Regions from separate parts of the Homo sapiens genome. Here all the other regions are linked to region 2. The links are contacts of gene promoters, found by promoter capture Hi-C in blood cells and fetal thymus (Javierre and others, 2016). All regions are on one chromosome and are shown on one strand. The core of a region is centred on a gene start or on the middle of the fragment in contact, and the rest is flanking DNA. Distances in the headings are between cores, read along the strand shown.

Region 1 (2,700 bases), core at 42-2,541, 660 kb after region 2:
AGAATGTTCTCTCAGATTGTGTATTGGCATGTGAAGGCAGGTCTGTCTGGCTCCAAAGATTCTGCTTTTTGCATGATCCCACCTGGCCTATCTGGTGAGGACACCTGTCCCTGTTTCATTCTTAAGAAGCTAAATGTCAACATTGAAGGCCACTTCAAACTACATCCAAACGATTGCATGCCAAAATGTTAGTGGACTACTATGGTGAAAATGATAAGTATTGATAGAAAGATCTTGCTAGAAATTCAAATGGCAGAGTTTCAATTAATAATTTCAAAATTCATTCTCAGTATCCTAGAGTCATTATGAAGCCTGACATTGAATAATAGTTAACAACATGATAATCCTCCTGCTAGGTTTTTGTTTTATATTTGTTTGTTTTAATTACTTCTTTGTTTGAAGGATATAATTCAAGCTACTCTACATTCTGGCCTACTTTTTAAATGCTCTTGACATAAATAACTGACATAGAGATTTTACTAGGCTGCCTCTCTCATTTTGGCATGGCTTTTCACTACTATTGATTAGTATATCCTTATCTGGAAAACAAATCATCTCTGGTTTATAGCTTCTAAATAAGAGAGAAAGAAAGTTAAGGGCTGTTCACTATTTAGCTGTAAAGTTCTTTCCAGTTCTGCAATAATGTACAGTAGAGAGGAAATGACAGAAGTTAAGGTGTTCAGTCACTTTCACCTACCCTAACTCACAAGTAAAAATTGTCATTTCTGAGGTCAACAGTTAATTCAAAATATGATATTTTTGGCTCAGAGTTTTAAGTTTACAACATAAGAAATCTGGAGAACTTCTAGAATTGTATATTACATATGCAAAGCTCCCTCTCACTAGGGAAAAAAAAAGAGCTTCCATGAAACATTGTTTTTATTGCATGCTGGGCTACTGAGAATTTCAGGCAAACCTGTAAGGGACAAAAAATAAAATAAGTTTGCTAAAACTCAAAAAGAAAAAACAAAAGAATCTCCAAGAGACAGTGATGCCTTTGGAGCAAATGCCAAGATCATCACTCCAAATCCTGGGCCAGTAATGAAACAGCGAAGATAAACTCGAAAATCACAGATGTAGCCAGGGGCCTACGACAGGCTTAATATAAAGCCAGGTTGGTTGCTCAGAATCAAGTTGAATCATCTTAAAAATTTTTTTCTAAAACTGACATAAATAATAAAAGGAAGAAAAATAGTCAACACACTCATGAAGAAGAGAGAAAAAGTGAAGATCTTTGTCCTGATTAACAGCATAAACTATTATAAAAATATAATAATTAAAACAGTATTAGATCAATTGGCCAGTAAAACAAAATAGAGAGCTCAAAAACAGACTTGTGAGTATTAAAATTTAATATGTGATAGAGATAGCCATGCAAAACATTGCAGAAATTAGACTATTCACTAATAGTGTTGGCTCATAGTTATAAATATGGGGGAAAAATAGGATCCTTACAGCACACTACATGCACAAATCAGTTCCAGGTTGATTAAAGGCCCAAATATGAAAGTTAAAAAAGATAAAATAGAAGAATGTATTAATGACTCAGGGTAGGTTAGGAGATTTTAAATGATACAAAAGGTACTAATCATAAAATTGACCACATTATATAATTAAAAACTTATGTCATTTAAAGATATTACAAAGATATTTAAAAATAAGCCATAGAGACATTTGCAACATGTATAACTTGTAAAACATTAGTAACCAAAATATATAAAGAATTCCTAAAATTGGAAAGAAAAAAATTAGAAAAATGAGAAAATTTACATGAACAAGCATTTATAGAAAATAAAAAATGGAGAGTAAACTTATGAAAAATTATTTAATTTCATTAACAATTAGAAAAATGCAAATAAATATCACAAACAGATGTCATTTTACTTTCATCAGACTAGAAAATATTGACCAGCATGATAAATGCTAAGTGTTGGCAAGTATGTAGCTCAATTAAAAGTCTATGTGGCTATTGTGAATAGTGCCAATATAAAACATGGGGGTGCAGGTATTCTTTTGATGACTGATTTCCTGTCTGCTGGATAAGTACCCACTAGTGGAATTGCTGGAGCATACAATAGTTCTTTTTTTAGTTTTTTGAGAATCTTTCATACTGTTTTCCATAATGGTTATACTAATTTATATTTCCACCAACAGTGTATAAAAGTTCCACCTTCTCCTCATCTTCACCAGCACTTGTCATTTTTTGTCTTTCTAATAACGGCCATTTTACCAGAGGTGAGATGATATCTCATTGTCTTTTATTTGCATTTCCCTGATGATTAGTGATGTTGAGTATTTTTTCATATACCTGTTGTCATTTGTATGTCTTCTTTTAAGAAATGTCTATTAAGATCCTTTGCCCACTTTTTGATGGGATTATTTGTTTTTTTGTCATTGAGCTGTTTGAGTTACTTACATATTCTGGATATTAGTACATTGTTCAATGAATAATTTGCAAATAGTTTCCCAATTGTACAGGATGAATGGAATACTATTCAGCCATAAAAAATAAAATCCTATTTGCAGCAACATCAATGGAACTGGAGGTCGTTATGTTATGTGAAATAAACCAGGCACAGAAAGACACATATCACTGTTAGCACTCATCTGTGGGAGCTACCTCTTATGGAGGTAGAGAGTAGAATGATGGTTACTAGAGGCTGGGAAGGGAATGGGGATGAAGAGAGGTTGGTTAATGGG
Region 2 (2,700 bases), core at 76-2,575:
TCGGGTGAGACTAAGCTGTACTTTAGCTTTTTTGTGTCAAGCAAAAACAATTTCAGCAACAACACTCGCTTCCCCTGGTAATTTTTTTCATGGCGAATTACTAAATGCTAGATGCTCAAGTCAAAAAGAAACCTGACATCTGGGGAGGTGTTGAGGGGGTGTTAATAGTTCTAGTGAGATGTCTGGGGAGCGTTGAGGATACGATTTTTCAAACAGCAAATACAAGGATAAGGGGAAATTATGGTTTCGTATGACTCTCTCCTCCTTCCACTTTCTCGTTTCACCAATCTGTGGCCCCCCCAATTTAGAGGCGGGTTCAGTGAGATTAGGCTGCAGGAAACCGAGAGGCTCCACCGCGCTGCCGCCCCGGCCTCGTGATGTAATTGTTATTTCTTATTCGGAGACCGAACCGAGGAGAGCTGCTGAAGAAGTAGCAGCCCTGCTCCTTTTCCCTTGTCTTGTTGGGTCAGATCCTTCCCGGGGATGATGCAGATTGGCTGACAGACTCCGCTGGAGACTTCGCAGTGACAAAGCAGCCGAGGATTAACCCTGCTCCTGGGTCCTACGTCTGTCCAGGGAGCTGAGCGGGGCGCTCCTCAGGTCTCCTTCCTAGTTTTCCTCCCAGAGTCGCTCCACACGAGTGCTGGGCGCCTACTACGTGCTGGGCGTGGGGTCAAAGTGACCCAGAGTTCGCGCCCGTGCCCCCCAACATTAAAGCAGGACACACAGATTACAAGGAGATAGAAATTGGGGGTGGGTGGGTGAAAGGGGGCCCAGAGAGCGCGTGTTGTGGGGTGAAGGGGAGGAGGTAGACGCTTAAGGCAGGCGGGGACCCTGGAGCGTCTGGGGCGCCCCGGCCCCCAGGCTGTGCCCAAACGGGAGCATTCGGCCTGGGTCCCAAGAGCGCTTTCCCCGGTCCCCAGGAGGAGCTGTCCAGGCGCCTGCAGCGGTCGCGGGCGGCTGGACAGAGCTGGGAGCCCGGGGGACGGCCCGGGCGCGCCGTGCAGCCCCTCTCTCGGGGACGCGGTCCTCTCGCTGCCTCCGGGTCTTGCAGCCCCGTCTGGGACACCCGGAGAGCAGGCGAGAAGGAAATCCACGAAACAGAGGGGGTTCCGCAGCTCCTGTGAGCCGCCCGGATCCGCGCGGCTTCCTCCTGACCGGGTGACAATGGGAGGGAGGGGGAGAAAAGGGTTAAGAAACTTGGCTGAAGAGCTGAATGGCGTGGGGCGGCGAGGGGAGGGACTGGGCCGCGGCGGACTCGGCGGCGGAGGGAGGAGCGCGGCTGCGGGCGGGCGGTGAGCGAGGCGCTCAAAGTCAGCCTCGCAGACATTGCAGCAGAGCCCCGAACTCGGGAGGCGGCGGCGGAGGAGGCGGCGGCGAGGCGCAGGGACGACCCGGCCCCACGCCCGCCCGCCACCCGCGCGCGCCCGTCCGCCCGTGGCCTCGCGTCCGCCGCTGCGCCGTGAGCGCCGCTGGTCGGAGGGAAGAGCTCGCCGGGGCGCCGGGCCAGGACGGGGCGGCAGGCGCCTTCGCGGACCGAGCCTGACGGAGCCGGAGGCTGGGAGCCGCGGCGGCCTGGGGTGAGTGACGGCCGCGGCCAGGGCGCCAGGAGTAGCGGCCGCCGGCGCCGCCGGAAACGGCCCGGGAGCGCGGCCCGCGTCGGCTCTCGCTTGGCTGGCAGGGCCGCGGGGGCGTCGGGGCGGCGGGGAGGGCGCGTTTCCGGGGAAATCCTGCCTCTGCTGCCTGGTTCGAGTCTCCGGGTTCTCGCGGGGGGCCGGGGCGGCGGGCCGGCAAGTTGTGGAGTGGCCCCGGGTCGGCCCGCCCGTCCGTGCCAGTTCTGGGCAAGGGGGCGGCCGTCGCGTGGCCCCTGAGCGGGGCCGGACTCGGGGGGCCGGGTCGGGGTTGCCCCCGCTCGCTTGCCCTCTCGGTCCCGAACCCCGGGCACCGCTCGCCTCGCCGCTCTCCGTCCTGCTGTCCAGCCGGATCCTGGGCGGCGCCTTTCGCCTGGGTGCCTCCCTGCTCCTTGCTCGCTGGATACCCGGCTGGGAAAGTGAATAGGAAAAGGGACAGCTCGCCCGGCCCCCACCCGACCCCGGGCCGCTCTGCCCGCACTCGCGGTCCCCTCCCGATGGCGAGGCTCACGGACCCGAGGCCTCAGCCATCATTTTACCAGGAGCCAGGGGCCGGCCCCCATTTAGGGTGAGCCCGGTGGAAGTCCGGGAGGCTGCCTTTTCTCCCTTCTTCTGTGTCCACCTTATTACGATTGAATATTGTTTTATGAAGGTTTCCGTGGATGTATTCTGCAGACCCTCCCATCCCTTCCAAAGTAGTTTCCCAATTTTGATCAGGAGTTGGTGTTCAGTCAGAAGGAACAAAGGAACCAACTGTGTCTTAGAGGCGGACAGGCTGGGAGTCTGTGACACATGTTGATCTCTGAAGCATTCCAGGAGTTTCTACCTTTTATCACGTCAATAATTGGCTGCTGAAGGTAGTAAAAGAAGTACGGAATGATAAGCACTTTTGCGTTTTAAAAATATTTTTTAATGGCACATTTTACTTTGGGGAAAAAAGACGTTCTTAGGCACAAGGATTTTTAAAAACCCAGTTGGTGGAACTGAGTTGGAGTTTGTTTCTGGTATTGTAAATGATTACATGTGGGATTGTGAAGGAAATTGTGTCCTTAGAGGAAGAGAAGCCATC
Region 3 (2,700 bases), core at 60-2,559, 760 kb before region 2:
TTTCACTTACTTGTATCATAGATTTGTCAGAGTACATTAATTCAATTGTTCGATGGATTCTGGATATGCTTTCCTGCAAATCTAAGGATATAAGGTGTCATTTAATGATTAACAGCAAATGTGTTTCTACTTATAAGATAAGGACTAATGTTTTTCCTACAAACATGTTAGAGGAATAGGAAAATTTTCCTAAAACTTTTCTTAAAAAACATTACCATTTGAAATCTGTAGAAAATGAATTATAGTTATTCTTAATAAAAGACACAGTACAAATGCATACTTTAAAAACAACACAAATATGATTTATCTAGAAAATGTGCAGAGCCAATAAAAGTGAATTTTGTTCAAATCTATAAAGGAGAGTTTCAATGAAAATGAAAGCTAAGCTTCCTTACATATTGCTATAACACAAGTAAACTTAAGAACAAAGTAAAACATGTTCACCACATATCTTGTACACACACATAACTGAATAAAAATCGACTATAATCACCAGTGAAAATAAAATTATGGCACTCCCATGACAATTATTTCTACTTCTAGTAGAAAATAATCCTACAAAATTGTTCAGATAGGGATGTTCACAGTCATATTGTCCACAATAATTTTTAAAAAAGAGATAACCTAAATATCTGTCAATAAGGAAACGGTTAGATTGTAACCACATCATATTGTGAAGCTGCTGAACCAATCAGGAAGAAACCTTGAAAAACTATAAAAGAAACTGGCTAACTTTAGAGTGGGGAAAGACCTGTCTTAAGCCTGTCAGAAAACTAGTAACCTTATAGGAAAAGATAAGATCCTCCCTGCCCAACACTTTAAAAAATCTACATTATAAAAAGAAAACAAAACCAACATAAAATCAAATGAAAAACTGGGAAAATAATATCTGCAGCATATGTGATATTATAGGTAAAGTGTTAATATCCACAATACATTAAACTTTCTATTAAGTAATAAGAAAAATACAAATAGCTCAATACTTAAAAAATGGGCAAATGTCACAAACAAGAAATTTACAGAACAATATAAATATCCAACTTCACTCGAAGCTAAGGGAATGCAAATCAAAACACTAAAATACCAGTTTTTCAATTGTGAAAAACTACTAAAAAGTGTCCAGGGCTAGGGAGGATACTGGGAGACAGGCTCTCTCACACAGTGGGAATGCAAACTGGTTTAATGTTTTGGAGTGACAATTTTAAAACAGTCGTCAAAATTTAAAATATACACACTCTGAACCAGAAATGGTGGACATAAGGAAACAACAGATATTGGGGCCTACATTAGGGTGGAGGGTGGGAGCAGGGTGAGGATGGAAAAACCACCTATCAGGTACTGTGCTTATTACCTGCATGATGAAATAATCTTACACCAAACCCCCAAGACATGTAATTTACCTTTATAGCAAACCTGCACATGTACCCCTGAACATAAAAAAGAACATATCCTACTTACAGAAGTGTATAAATATGTATATCGAAGACCAGCACTATTTAGGAAATATCAATATGGGAATTAAATGAATTACATCATACCCGTGTGTTGGAATATTACACAATAGTTTACAAAATAATGCTAACTGCTAACATCAATATGGATGAAAGAAAGAAAAAAAATATCCTGAGGAAAACCTTCTTTCCTGATCCATAGTATTACATATAAAAATCTTAACAGCCAGGCATGGTGGCTCACGCCTGTAATCCCAGCACTTTGGGAGGCTGAGGTGGGCGGATAACAAGGTCAAGAGATTGAGACCACCCTGGCCAACATGGTGAAACCCCATCTCTACTAAAAATACAAAAATTAGTTGGGTGTGGTGGCACACAACTGTAATCCCAGCTACTTGGGAGGCTGAGGCAGGAGAATCGCTTGAACCTGGGAGGCAGAGGCTGGAGTGAGCCCGAGTTCATGCCACTGCACTCCAGCCTGGTGACAGAGCGAGACTCCGTCTCAAAAAAGCTCTTCAAACTTAAAATGGCCAAAAGAGAACTCATCATATTTCTCTTTCCTCCCCTGAGTGGGAACCTCTTTGCCCACTGCTTTACCTTTTTTCCAAAATACATTCTATTTGGTTATTCATACCATTATGAACTGAGAGAATCATTCGATTCGTCCCTCTCTCTTACCTCTAGCCAATGACCCACATCTGTCAGTTGTCTCCAAAGAGTATTTTAAGTACATTCACTTCTTCCCTCCCTCAATGCCACTACTTAGGTGTCAAAAGCTTCCTAGCTTCCACTCCTCTGAATGTAATCTTTTAAAAACAACCTGCCATGAGGAGTAGAAAATTACCCAACGCCTAATATAGTGCTTCATCAACACTATTTGCTTGATTAATGTTTGTTAATGAGTTCAAATATTTTTAAAAATTCCCTCTTATTTGAAAAATACTAAAGAAAATCTTGACAGCTACTAATGCTGTTAGTCACCATCATACCTTATGTACTTCTTACTAAATTAGGGCCATTCTTTTTCAAATATTGTCTATAAAGAGTTAAGTTGGTCATATAATATCCAACAATCAATATTGTTCAATATAATTCCAACCATGTCACATAGTTCATTTTTTTCAAAAATCAATAAATCAGCATAAAATTGGGGAATGATAATAGGGAATTATATTTTCACATTTAAGGAAAAAAATGTAATAAAATCTACCATAATCCATTTTTTTAAGTACACTTTAACAGCAGCAAA
Region 4 (2,700 bases), core at 169-2,668, 720 kb before region 2:
CCACCTCCCGGGTTCAAGCAATTCTCCTGTCTCAGCCACCCGAGTAGCTTGGATTACAGGCATGCACCACCATGCTCAGCTAATTTTGTATTTTTAGTGGAGACGGGGTTTCTCCACGTTCATCAGGCTGGTCTCAAACTCCTGACCTCAGATGATCCGCCAGCCTCAGCCTCCGAAAGTGCTGGCATTACAGGCGTGAGCCACCACGCCCAGCCACATCTTTATCTTTCATGTGTTCCTTAGCCACTAATTGTAGCTGTTGATATTTCTGACATTTTTAACTTTAAACCTTCATATTAGAGGACGGAAGGAATTACACAGCACCATTACAGCACTGGGGTATTCTGAATATGATTATGGATTTACCTATATTGATGAGTTTTGTATTTTCACATATTTTCATGGTATTAATCATTCTTTCATTTCCTATTATTTCCTCTAAGTGTTTTTGTAGGACCAGTCCAGTGGTGATGAATTCCATCACCTTTGCTTGTCTGGAAACGTCTCTATTTCTTTTTCTTTTCTTTATTTTTTTTGAGACGGAGTCTCGCTCTGTCGCCCAGGCTGGAGTGCAGTGGCGCGATCTCGGCTCACTGCAAGCTCCGCCTCCTGGGTTCACGCCATTCTCCTGCCTCAGCCTCCCAAGTAGCTGAGACTACCGGCACCCACCACCATGCCTGGCTAATTTTTTGTATTTTTTTTTTTTTTTTTTAGTACAGACGGGGTTTCACCATGTTAACCAAGATGGTCTCGATCTCCTGACCTCGTGATCTGCCTGCTTTGGCCTCCCAAAGTGCTGAGATTACAGGCATCAGCCACTGCGCCCGGCCCTTCTTTTTCATTTCTTAAGGATAGCACTGCCGGATATATTCTCTGCTGACAGTTTTTATTTTTATATTTTATTTTTATTTTTTCCCAGCACTGTGAATATGTCATCCCACTCTCTCCTGTCTTGTGCAGTCTCTGCTGAGAAATGTACTGACAGTCTAATGGGAATTCCCATATATGTGACGTAATGTTTTTGTCTTACAGCTTTTAGAATTGTGTACCTTTGAGAGGATTTTGAGGGGCTGAATTTTATTGGGGATCTTTTCATTCCTAGATGTCCATAACTTCCAAGACTTCCTTCCAAGAAGTGCAGAAGGACACAGGCAATCTATTTAACCAAATGGGTGGTCTATGCCTCTCTTCACTTATTCTTTCTCTGGCACTCCCATAATATGAATATAGGTTTGCTTAATGGTGTCTGATAAGTCCTATGGGCTTTCTTCATACTTTGTTATTCTTTTTTTTTTTTCTTCTTCTGAATGGGTTATTTCAAACGATCTGTCTTCAAGTTCAGAAATGTATTATTCTGCATGTTCTAGTCTGTTACTGTGGCTCTCAATTGTATTTTTTTTAATTTCATTCACTTAATTCCTCAAGCTCCAAGATTCCTGTTTTGTTCCTTTCCATAATATCTATCTTTGTTCAATTTCTCACTCAGCTAATGAATTTATTAATTTCGTTAAATTGTTGTATTCTCTTACAACTCAAAAGTTTCTTTAATGTCATTATTTTGAATTATTTTTCATGCATTTCATAAATATTCTTTTCTTTGGATTCCATTACTAAAGATGCATTGTGGTGCCAGGTTTGGGGGTGACACGTTTCCTTGCTTTTTCATGATTCTTCTGTCTCTATGTTGGTACCTGTGCATGTAATGGACAATTGCTTTTTCCAATTTTAACGAGCAGCTTTCATAGGAAGAGGTTTTTTCCTGTTGATGGGTCCTAGGGTGCTGATTGGAAATGGCGTGTGGTGGCTTTGGTTCAGGGTGGACTCAGTATTGTGGTGTCCAAACAGATTATTCAGCTGGAATCCTCACCTGCGATGTCCGTGATTATCTCAGTGACTTAGTATGCAGAAGCCCATGACTGTGGTGGCATGGTTTTTCTGGAGTTGGCACCAAGCTGGTTGCTGGTCAGGCACATGCTGATGCAGCAGGCCAGAAAGGTTGTACGACTGTCTCTCCTGAATGGCAGCAGGGTTACTGCTGGGCTGGCTATCAGGCCAGGGGTGGATGCACACAGGTCTGGAGGCTGTGCATGACTCTGGTGATGTAGGGTTGAGCTGCGGAAAGAGTGCCTCCAAACCAGCTATTGGACTAAAGGCAGGAAATTGTGGCCCGGCAGCTGTGCACAATCCTCCAGTGGTACAGGCAGACAACCTCTGGGCCAGCTATTCAAGCTGGGAGCAAGTTCACACAGGCCCACTGGCTGTATACTACTCTCTCCCTTGGGGTGGGGCCACCTCCAGGCCAGCTAGAGCCAGGGACAGATGTACACTAGCCTGGTGGCCGCATGGGGCTGCCCGGCCATGCAGGCCCACCTGCTTCCCTGGGTAATAGGGAGCCTTGTGGGTTTAGGTATCAGGGCCCCAGTTGTGCCTTTGAGCCTAGGCTCCAAGTAGCCAAGGTATTAGTGCTAGAGGCACTTGTGTGAACTTTGTGGAATGAGGGCAATGCCTCTGGGATACAGGGTGGCTACTGGCCTCCAGGTCAGGAAGCACTCCAGATGTGGGCTTGGTTTCACAGTTGTGTCATCCCTTAGCTGCTTGGATTGCAGGGGTGCAGGGTGTCAAAGAGGTTCCTGCTGTGGGGGAATGTAGCCACATGCACTTTCAGCAACTGTTCATGCTGGACTTGGGACCTGTGAGGAC
Region 5 (2,700 bases), core at 181-2,680, 680 kb after region 2:
ACCTCATGCTTTATGATCCACCACTTTCTAATCTATGGAATAGATGATCTCTTGCTTCTGTGCTCTTGGTAATTGAGTTCCGTCTGCCTGGAACACCTCCAGCCCACTGCCCATTACAAGTAATACTTAAGAACTAAGTGCTTGAATTCTTCACTCCTTATAAGAATCTTATTGAACAGCACTCACTATAGACACACACTTTTTATATTTCGCATTATGAAATACTTAAAAATGCGCAAAAGTAGAGAGAACATTACAATGGATCCCTATCAACCAGAATTCAGCTTCCATAATCAAAATTCACATTGATAAGTCAGAAATAACCAGCAATGTATTCCCACAGCAGGCTGACGTGTTGTCAACAGGGATGGTTTGATTTATATCTAAGCTGAGAAAATGGATTCAATTCTCCAGGATCTTAGTTATCGTGAACTCTAACAGCAAAAATGACAAAACCACTCTCAGAGGAGTCATTAAGTGCTACCAGTGACCAAGATGCGAGAAAAATCCTACTTCAGACTAGAACCTGAACAGCATGTCACAAGCGTCCTAAAATGGCTGTCACGTTACAGGACTTGCCCATAAGGTCAATTTTGGCCACTTAAGACTTACTTGAAGAGAGAGCTAAGGGTTTTCTTTTTAATTTCGTTTTTGTTTTTGTTTTTAATGGCCCACGTCAGTGCTAGCAATAGAGAAAATGTGTCCCTGATCCCTTGGATAAATCGAATTGACTGAAGAATGCTTGAATTCATTTATCCCAAAACAAAGGCAGACGGCTGAGGGTCACTGGAGTTTCAGGGCTGCTCCCAGCGTTGGAGCACGGACGCCAGAGCCGACTTCCCTCAGGCCCCGCACTGCGGCAGGGACCCTTCTACGGAGGATGGCTGGGGCTCCGGGAGGCTATAGGAACGCCATCTAGAAGCTAGATCTCAGGCAAACGAACGCGCTTTAAAAGGAATTAAAACGAAAGAACACAAACTCGAATCCTGGACCTGATTAGGGGCACGACCAAAGAAAGAAATAACTAACGGTTCTCACCCTCCCTTTCATTCCCTCCCGCGGAAAGAGAAAGGCTGGAACTCCGCTTCCCAGAATGCAAAGCGCGGGGCGGGGCTAAAGAGATAGCCTGTTTTCCCTCAAGTAGGATCGCGGGACCACAGGTTTGATTATAAACGCCAGTCTCTCGCCACGGCGCTCCTCCCCCTCAGTCTCACTGGTCCTGCCGGCCGTTGCGTGGAAGGGGGACTCAGTCGTCACTGGCAGCGGTTGAATGGAGGCTCTTTGCCCCGCGCCCTCACGGTAGATGAAGTCCTTGCTTTGGTCAGAGCGATAGCTTCTCCGATTGCCTCAGAGCAAGCGGACTACATTTCCCAGGGGGCTGCGGGACTGCCGGGAGGAGTGGGGGCGGTGCCTCACGTCTGGTACAGTCATCACAAGCCTGTTCGGCGGGACTGTGATGGCCAGAGAGATGACGATCTTAGGTGGGTTCCCGGGGGTCCTTGTTGCTCTTGCGGGCGTAGAGGCGATCTGAGGATGCCAGAGTGGGCAGGGGTGGTTGACTCACCTCCTGGATCTAGCTGGAGCAGCGGAAGGGGAGTCAGAAAGGTGACTTAGAGACGGTTTTCGGCTGTTCGGAGTGGATGGGGGCGGGGACGCCTCTAGGAGGGCCCCGGCCCCTGCAGGCCAAGGTAGGATAGACGGCGACCAGCTGTGTCCATCCCAGGGACATCAGGCTTAGGGAGGCGTTCCTTTCAACAGCACCTAGGTTTTTGAATTGCCTGTTGAATTGGGGCAAGCTATGGAAGGCTGCGAGAACGTGCACCTCCAGGACCCCTTTGTGGAGGAAGGGGGAGGAGCTACATCCGGATCTGTCGGCTCAGGGATGCTGAATTTGGAGGCTTTTTCCATCACATCGGGTTTGGAATTACCTATCCCCCACCCACACACACACCCACCCCGCGTCTCCAAGGTGATGAAATGCTTCTGAAATGTTGCCTGTAGCTGGAAGTGGAAAGTGGGATTCGCACTTGGTTTTATTTCTTTGAGTTATGTGTTGATGAGGATGAGCTAACAATTAGTAACACAGAGCCCTGAAAATTCATGTTTTGGGTCATATGTAATATGAGCGGACACAGGTGTATAACACAGCCTCCTGATACCAAATACGAGATTCATTAAAAACTAAAGGGGCATCTTTCTTCGCTTATGTTTACAATCTGCGTGGCATTTGTTCCTACTCTTTTTTCTTTTTTTTTTAAATTAGTATTTGTTGGGCATCTGCTATTCCTGGTCTGGGGGATACAACAGTGAACGAAACTTGTCTTCAAGAAGCTTTCATAGATGTTGCCGTCAGGGTTGCCCACCTTTATGCTTCTTCTCCCCTAAATATTACCACTGCAAGAAGGAAGTCCCTAGTTCATACTTAAATACATAAAAAGTTAACTGTGTTCTGTTTTGAAGTGACAGTTTCATATCTAAGGAACTTTCAAAATCATTTTATCCCATTTATTCATTTCATCCTTTTGAAAGGGAAAAGGAGGTGAGATACGAGGAGAGAATTTTAGACTTATAAAATAATAAAGTTTTTCTTGTGAGAATTTTAATAATGGAGCTTTTAAAAAAAGATAATCGAAGCTTTTTATAAAGCTGTAAAATCTAAATATCAATTGATCAAGAATATTAGATTATATCTGGCTTTTG
Region 6 (2,700 bases), core at 90-2,589, 810 kb after region 2:
ACCCATCTGTGAAATTCTGTGGACCAAAATAATCTATTTTATTCTTAATGATCAGGTGTCAGCCAGATACCTATGCACACACAAGTGTGTGATTAAAAGGAGTTTTTTTAAAAAGCTGTCCATTGTCACCTCTGAGATACATTTCAAGAAGGGTTCCCTTCCTGAGAGGGAATTCAGGGAGAAGTGCTTAGTTTTTGAAGCAGAACTTCCTATTATTTTGAATCTTGGCTTTTCACCCCTGTTTTCCAAACAATCAACAACATTCAATATCCACAGTTATAGCACACAATAGGCATTTTTGTATAAGGGATTGGTATTCAGGGTGAGCTTGGTGGGGGATGGAATATGGACACAGGTGTGCTTCACAGAGTTGATGGATGAGATACCGCCAGGCACCACATAACAACATTTCAGTCAACAACTGAACTATGTGACAGCATATACGGTGGTTGACCACATAAGATTATAATACTGCATTTTTATTGTATTTTTTTATGTTTAGATATGTTTAAATACACAGATACCACTGTGTTACAATTGCATGTGGTATTCAGGACAGTCACATGCAGTACAGGGTGGTAGCCTAGGAGCAATAAGCTATACCATATAGCCTAGGTGGGTAGTTAGTCTTTCTATCTAGGTTTGTGTAAGTACACTCTATGATGTTGGTACAACAACTAAATCACCTAATGACACATGTCTCAGAATATATCCCCACGATTAAGTGATGATGACTGTATTTTTGACAAAAAGCATCATGAGAGAAGAGCAAAGGGTCAAGGAGAGTTAATTGATCAGTCCTAACATATACTGAATGCCCCTGACTCTGTACTTTTTACTAGAAGCTTGATGTCTACAGCTTCTTGAATTATGGTTGTCAGAGTGGAGTTTGCTTACTGTGTAGTTAACTGGTTGTTACTCTCTACTGGATTTGATAAATCAGAAAAAAATTCCGCATATAAGAATTAGTTGGATTAATAGCCAAACCCTGTTTTTAAGGGTTTTGTTTGTTTGTTTGCTTTTGTTTTCTTGTTTTACGAAATCTCAAAGGAAGTACTTATGGTTAGAATGCAAGACAAGGAGTCTTTTTCTGGGATTAGTGTTTAGTTTGGCTTCATAGTTCTTAAGTCTGAAATGATTTCCTTAGCCTTCTGAAAGCCACTAAGAAGGATTGATAATTCTGTATAACCATTCTGTATTTATCAACTGCTATTTGTCTTTCAGAAAGCTGCAGGATTATAATATAACAATTCTCAGACACATGTAAAACATATATTGCTCTTCTATTTCTCACTGCAAAAATGAATTTTGTAAAGTATTTTAAACATTGGTGTCTCCATGGTAGCAGAGGAGATGATAAGTCAGAACACGAACATTGTCTTTGCATAGATAAAACTGTAGAATAAAGTAAAATGATATGTTGAACACCGAATATCTAGTTATGTCCATCATCACTGCACTCTAGGATGTGAATATAGTTGCCTTGGATTTGCTAGGAAGAATTTTAACTCACTGTTCCTGCTGTATCACATTATAGCAACTTTTCCTTCACAATCTGAATATGCTAGTTAGATAATGGACTTAAAAATTGAGGAAATGAGGTATAGTCCTCTTCTAATCCTGTTTTCTACAGGGTAAAGAAATATTAAAATAGATTCTTGCACAGATAACTGAATTAAAGGATGATATCAATTATCTGATTCAATGGATAAGCATAGGCACAGAGATATGGAGAGCTGAACATACTGTAAAATATCCTTTTGTTAACATTGCAAGCTGTTAAACCATGCTGCTTTGTTGAGTGTTCTCTCATTCTTGGGGAACAAAGCTTTGCTTTTCAGTGTTTGTACTGACAGAATGTTGGTCCATTTCCATGTGCCCTCTCATAAGTACAAATAGAACTCTTGAACAAATGTGGAATAATTATTGTGGTCTAGAGGGAAAATCATATTTACTAAGCATTTACAAGGTACTTAGGACAATCTTAGTACTTTAGCCCCAACGTGGGGATAGATCATTGTCTCCCACTTTGCATATAAAATTATGCAAATTTCATTGGTCCATGATTCTGTACTTAATATGGGATGGATATGGATTTCAGGTATTCCATTTCATGAAGAAATATTAAAGGACCTGTTATATAGGGAATTTAGAACTGCTAGAATATGGTAAGTTCTGAAAATGTTCTAAGTAACCATATAAATCAAATTAAATGTATATGTGCCTGCAATCAGATTACTTATCATTACACACTTGACTTAAGTATTAATAAACAATGAATCTTCAGGTGAGTGTTAAGAAGAATTAATACCCAGTTTATTTGATTTAAAGGTACCAAATAGCCCTCAAAAGCTATGGTGACAGGCCTGGCCAACATGGTTAAACCCCGTCTCTACTAAAAATACAAAAATTAGCCAGTCTTCATGGTGCATGCCTGTAATCTCAGCTACTCAGGAGGCTGAGGCAGGAGAATCGCTTGAACCCAGGAGGCAGAGGTTGCAGTGAGCCAAGATTGCACCACTCCGGCCTGGGTAACAGAGGAGATTGTCTCAAAAAAAAAAAAAAAAAGCTATGGTGACAGATTAGTTTACTTTCAGGATATTAGGCTGCCATTAAGTCATCAGCACTGATGTGATTTTTATGAAATGTTTATTTTTTATGTTTAAATGAATTGTCCTAGCATGTCTTTATATGATTTTC
Region 7 (2,700 bases), core at 2-2,501, 630 kb after region 2:
CAGATGCATTGTTATTCATTTATCGAAGTCCATAATTTGTTCAGATTTCCTTGGTTTTTACCTAATATCCTTTTCCTATTCCAGGAACTCATTCAGGATGCCACATTGCATTCAGCTATTATGTCTGTCTCCTTAGGCTCCTGATGCCTGTGACAGTTTCCTAGTTTTTGTTTTTACTTGATGATCTGAACACTTTTGAGGAGTAAAGTATTTTGTGGGATGTCCCTCCACTGGAATTTGTTTGATGTTCTTCTCATGATTATACTGAGGTTATTGGGCTTGGGGGAAAGGAATATTACAGAAATAAAGTGCTATTTTTGTGACAGCGTGTCAAGGGTACATACTATCAACATGAGTTATGACTATTAATGTTGACATTGATAATCACGCTCAGTTAGCTTCATCAGGCTTCTTCACCGTAAAGTTACTCATTCCCTCCATCACTTTCCATACTGCACTGTTGGAGGGAAGTCATTATGTCTACCCCCTCCATGAGAGTGGAGTGTTTACATAAATTATTTGGAATTCTTCTATATGGGAGATGTGTCCATTCTCTCCTAATTACTTATTTATTCAATCATTTATGATATTGATATTATTATATCAATATGGACTCATGGATATGGATGTTATACTTTGAAATTTTATCCTGTACTACTTTATTTTCTTGCTCAACTTATTCCACCTTTGGCCATTGGGAGCGCTTTCAGTTGACTCCTGTGTCCCTTCGACACACCTACATCAATATGGGTTTGTTTGTTTGTTTGTAAGCATTTATTTGCTTTCTGCACTAAAAAATGGTCCGGGCTCAGCTTGTACATTTTCTGCCTCAGTTTTAGAATTAATCATTTATCTAAGGAGTCCTGGTTATCATTAGTTTTTTGTGACATCATGAAAATGTGCAATATACCTTTGCAAATCCTGAACATATCATTTAACTTACAATAATACCAAATACAGTGAGATTTTTATAATTTATCATAATTATGTGAAAAGGATGATATGGCAAGGATCTGATAGTGAAGATACTGGAAACATGAAGATATCGACATTGTAGAAACAAAATGGTAATGTCTGAAGAGTTTAATCATAAAGACTTTATCAATCAGAGGATAATCAGAGAAACTATAAAGATCAGAAAACTTAAGCAATGATTCTGAATTGAAATAACAAATATATTAATAAGTATACACAAAATGCTAGTGAGAATGATTTACAATGTATAATATTAGGCTCATACACTGTCAACTGATGGGATTCCAATCTTGCTACTAGAAAACTTATAGTAAGTATCTAGAAATAAAGGAAGAAAGATAATGAGAACACTAAAAATTTCCTTAAGACCACACCAGGATAATGGGAATTATCTGCATTTACTTTTGACTCTCAAGAAAACAGCAGCAATCTTTTAAAAACAACAGTAGAATTTTAGGTCTAGAAAAGACATTAGCAGTGTTCTTGTCTAACTAATAGTTTGCTATGGCTGCCATAACAAAATACCACAGACTGGTGGATTAAACAACAGAGATATAGTTTCTCATCACCCTAAAGACTAGAAGTCCAAGATTAAGAGATTAGCAAGTTTGGTTTCTTCTGAGGCCAAAAGAGTCCTCTCTCCTTGGCTTGAGATGGTCACCTTTTCACTGTGCCATTACATGGACTTTACTCTGTGCTTGTGCATTCCTGGTGTCTCTTTATGTGTCCAAATTCCCTCTTATTACAAGGGCACTGGTCAGATTGAATTAGGGACCACCCTAACAGCCTTATTTAACTTAATCATCTATTCAAAGGCCTGTAGCCAAATACAGTTACATTCTGAGATACTGCAACACTGAAACCCTTTGACTGACATCTCCTCATTTTTTCCCCATCCTTCAGCCTCTGATAACCACTATTCAATTCTGTTTCTATGTATTCAACTCTTTTTAAATTCTAGATGTAAGTGAAACCATGTACTATTTTTCTTTCTATGTCTGGCTTGTTTCACTTAGCATAATATTCTCCAACTTCATCCATGCTGTTACAATTGGCTGAATCTCCTTCTTTAAGATTGAATAATATTCATATATATGTGTATTTTATATATGTATGAAATACACACACATACATATATGCCTATATATTTTCTTTATCTATTCATCTATGGACAGACAGTTGGATTGTTTCTATATTTTATCTATTGTGAATAAAGCTGCAACAAACATGGAGATGCAGGTATCCCTTCAACATATTGTTTTAATTTTTTTAGATGTATACCCAAAAGAGGAATTGCTGGGTCATAGGGTAGTTCTACTTCTAATTTTTTGAGGAAACTCCACTCTGTCTTCTATAATGGCTGTTCCAATTTGCCTTCCCACCAACAGTATAAAAAAGCTCCCTTTTCCTCCACACCCTTGTCAACACTTCTCTTGTCTTCTTGATATAACCATTGTAACAGGTGTGACACAGTATCTCATTGTGATTTTGATTTACATTTCCCCGATGATTAGTTATGTTGAGCACCTTTTCATATGCCTGGTGGACATTTTTACATCTTCTTTGGAGAAATGCCTATTGGGGTACTTTACCAAATTTTAATTAGATTACTTGTTTTTTGCTATTGAGTTGTGTGAACTCCTTACAGATTTTGCATATTAACCCTTCATCAGATATACAGTTTGCAAATATTTTCCCCAATCTATAGGCTTTTTCATTTTGTTG

What was found. The method cuts DNA at HindIII sites, captures the fragments that hold promoters and counts their contacts. A CHiCAGO score of 5 or more calls a contact.
Region 1: a fragment that was not itself captured here is called in contact with the fragment with the promoter of NRIP1 in region 2 in 4 of 17 cell types (M0 macrophages, erythroblasts, M2 macrophages and 1 more); the score reaches 6.1 in M0 macrophages.
Region 3: a contact is called between a fragment that was not itself captured here and the fragment with the promoter of NRIP1 in region 2, in 3 of 17 cell types (naive CD8 T cells, naive CD4 T cells and total CD4 T cells). The highest score is 10.3, in naive CD8 T cells.
Region 4: a contact is called between a fragment that was not itself captured here and the fragment with the promoter of NRIP1 in region 2, in 1 of 17 cell types (naive CD4 T cells). The highest score is 5.2, in naive CD4 T cells.
Region 5: a contact is called between the fragment with the promoter of HSPA13 here and the fragment with the promoter of NRIP1 in region 2, in 7 of 17 cell types (erythroblasts, naive CD4 T cells, fetal thymus and 4 more). The highest score is 8.9, in erythroblasts.
Region 6: a fragment that was not itself captured here is called in contact with the fragment with the promoter of NRIP1 in region 2 in 1 of 17 cell types (erythroblasts); the score reaches 5.0 in erythroblasts.
Region 7: a contact is called between a fragment that was not itself captured here and the fragment with the promoter of NRIP1 in region 2, in 2 of 17 cell types (M0 macrophages and erythroblasts). The highest score is 6.4, in M0 macrophages.

Annotation. Positions count from the first base shown.
Region 1 is chr21:14,398,804-14,401,503 of GRCh38, reverse strand. No RefSeq gene overlaps it. Among named protein-coding and RNA genes, the nearest start is that of HSPA13, 17 kb to the right of the region's middle. The HindIII fragment of the contact is 7,464 bases long and covers 1-2,700 here.
Region 2 is chr21:15,063,625-15,066,324 of GRCh38, reverse strand. It overlaps NRIP1 (nuclear receptor interacting protein 1), which reads left to right and starts at 1,325. Exons shown (of 4, transcript NM_003489.4): 1 at 1,325-1,580. RefSeq lists an enhancer at 424-473 and silencers at 804-983, 1,234-2,093. The HindIII fragment of the contact is 10,218 bases long and covers 1-2,700 here.
Region 3 is chr21:15,827,912-15,830,611 of GRCh38, reverse strand. USP25 (ubiquitin specific peptidase 25) reads right to left here. Exons shown (of 26, transcript NM_001283041.3): 15 at 11-81. Among named protein-coding and RNA genes, the nearest start is that of USP25, 99 kb to the right of the region's middle. The HindIII fragment of the contact is 1,841 bases long and covers 389-2,229 here.
Region 4 is chr21:15,781,806-15,784,505 of GRCh38, reverse strand. All of the region lies in intron 4 of USP25 (ubiquitin specific peptidase 25), which reads right to left. Among named protein-coding and RNA genes, the nearest start is that of USP25, 53 kb to the right of the region's middle. The HindIII fragment of the contact is 3,402 bases long and covers 1-2,700 here.
Region 5 is chr21:14,381,876-14,384,575 of GRCh38, reverse strand. It overlaps HSPA13 (heat shock protein family A (Hsp70) member 13), which reads left to right and starts at 1,430. Exons shown (of 5, transcript NM_006948.5): 1 at 1,430-1,481. The coding sequence starts at 1,457. LOC105369304 (a long non-coding RNA gene) reads right to left here and starts at 1,810. Exons shown (of 2, transcript XR_007067924.1): 1 at 1-1,810. RefSeq lists enhancers at 894-1,023, 1,414-1,723. The HindIII fragment of the contact is 7,322 bases long and covers 1-2,333 here.
Region 6 is chr21:14,250,665-14,253,364 of GRCh38, reverse strand. No RefSeq gene overlaps it. Among named protein-coding and RNA genes, the nearest start is that of RBM11, 36 kb to the right of the region's middle. The HindIII fragment of the contact is 983 bases long and covers 848-1,830 here.
Region 7 is chr21:14,431,833-14,434,532 of GRCh38, reverse strand. No RefSeq gene overlaps it. Among named protein-coding and RNA genes, the nearest start is that of HSPA13, 50 kb to the right of the region's middle. The HindIII fragment of the contact is 3,201 bases long and covers 1-2,700 here.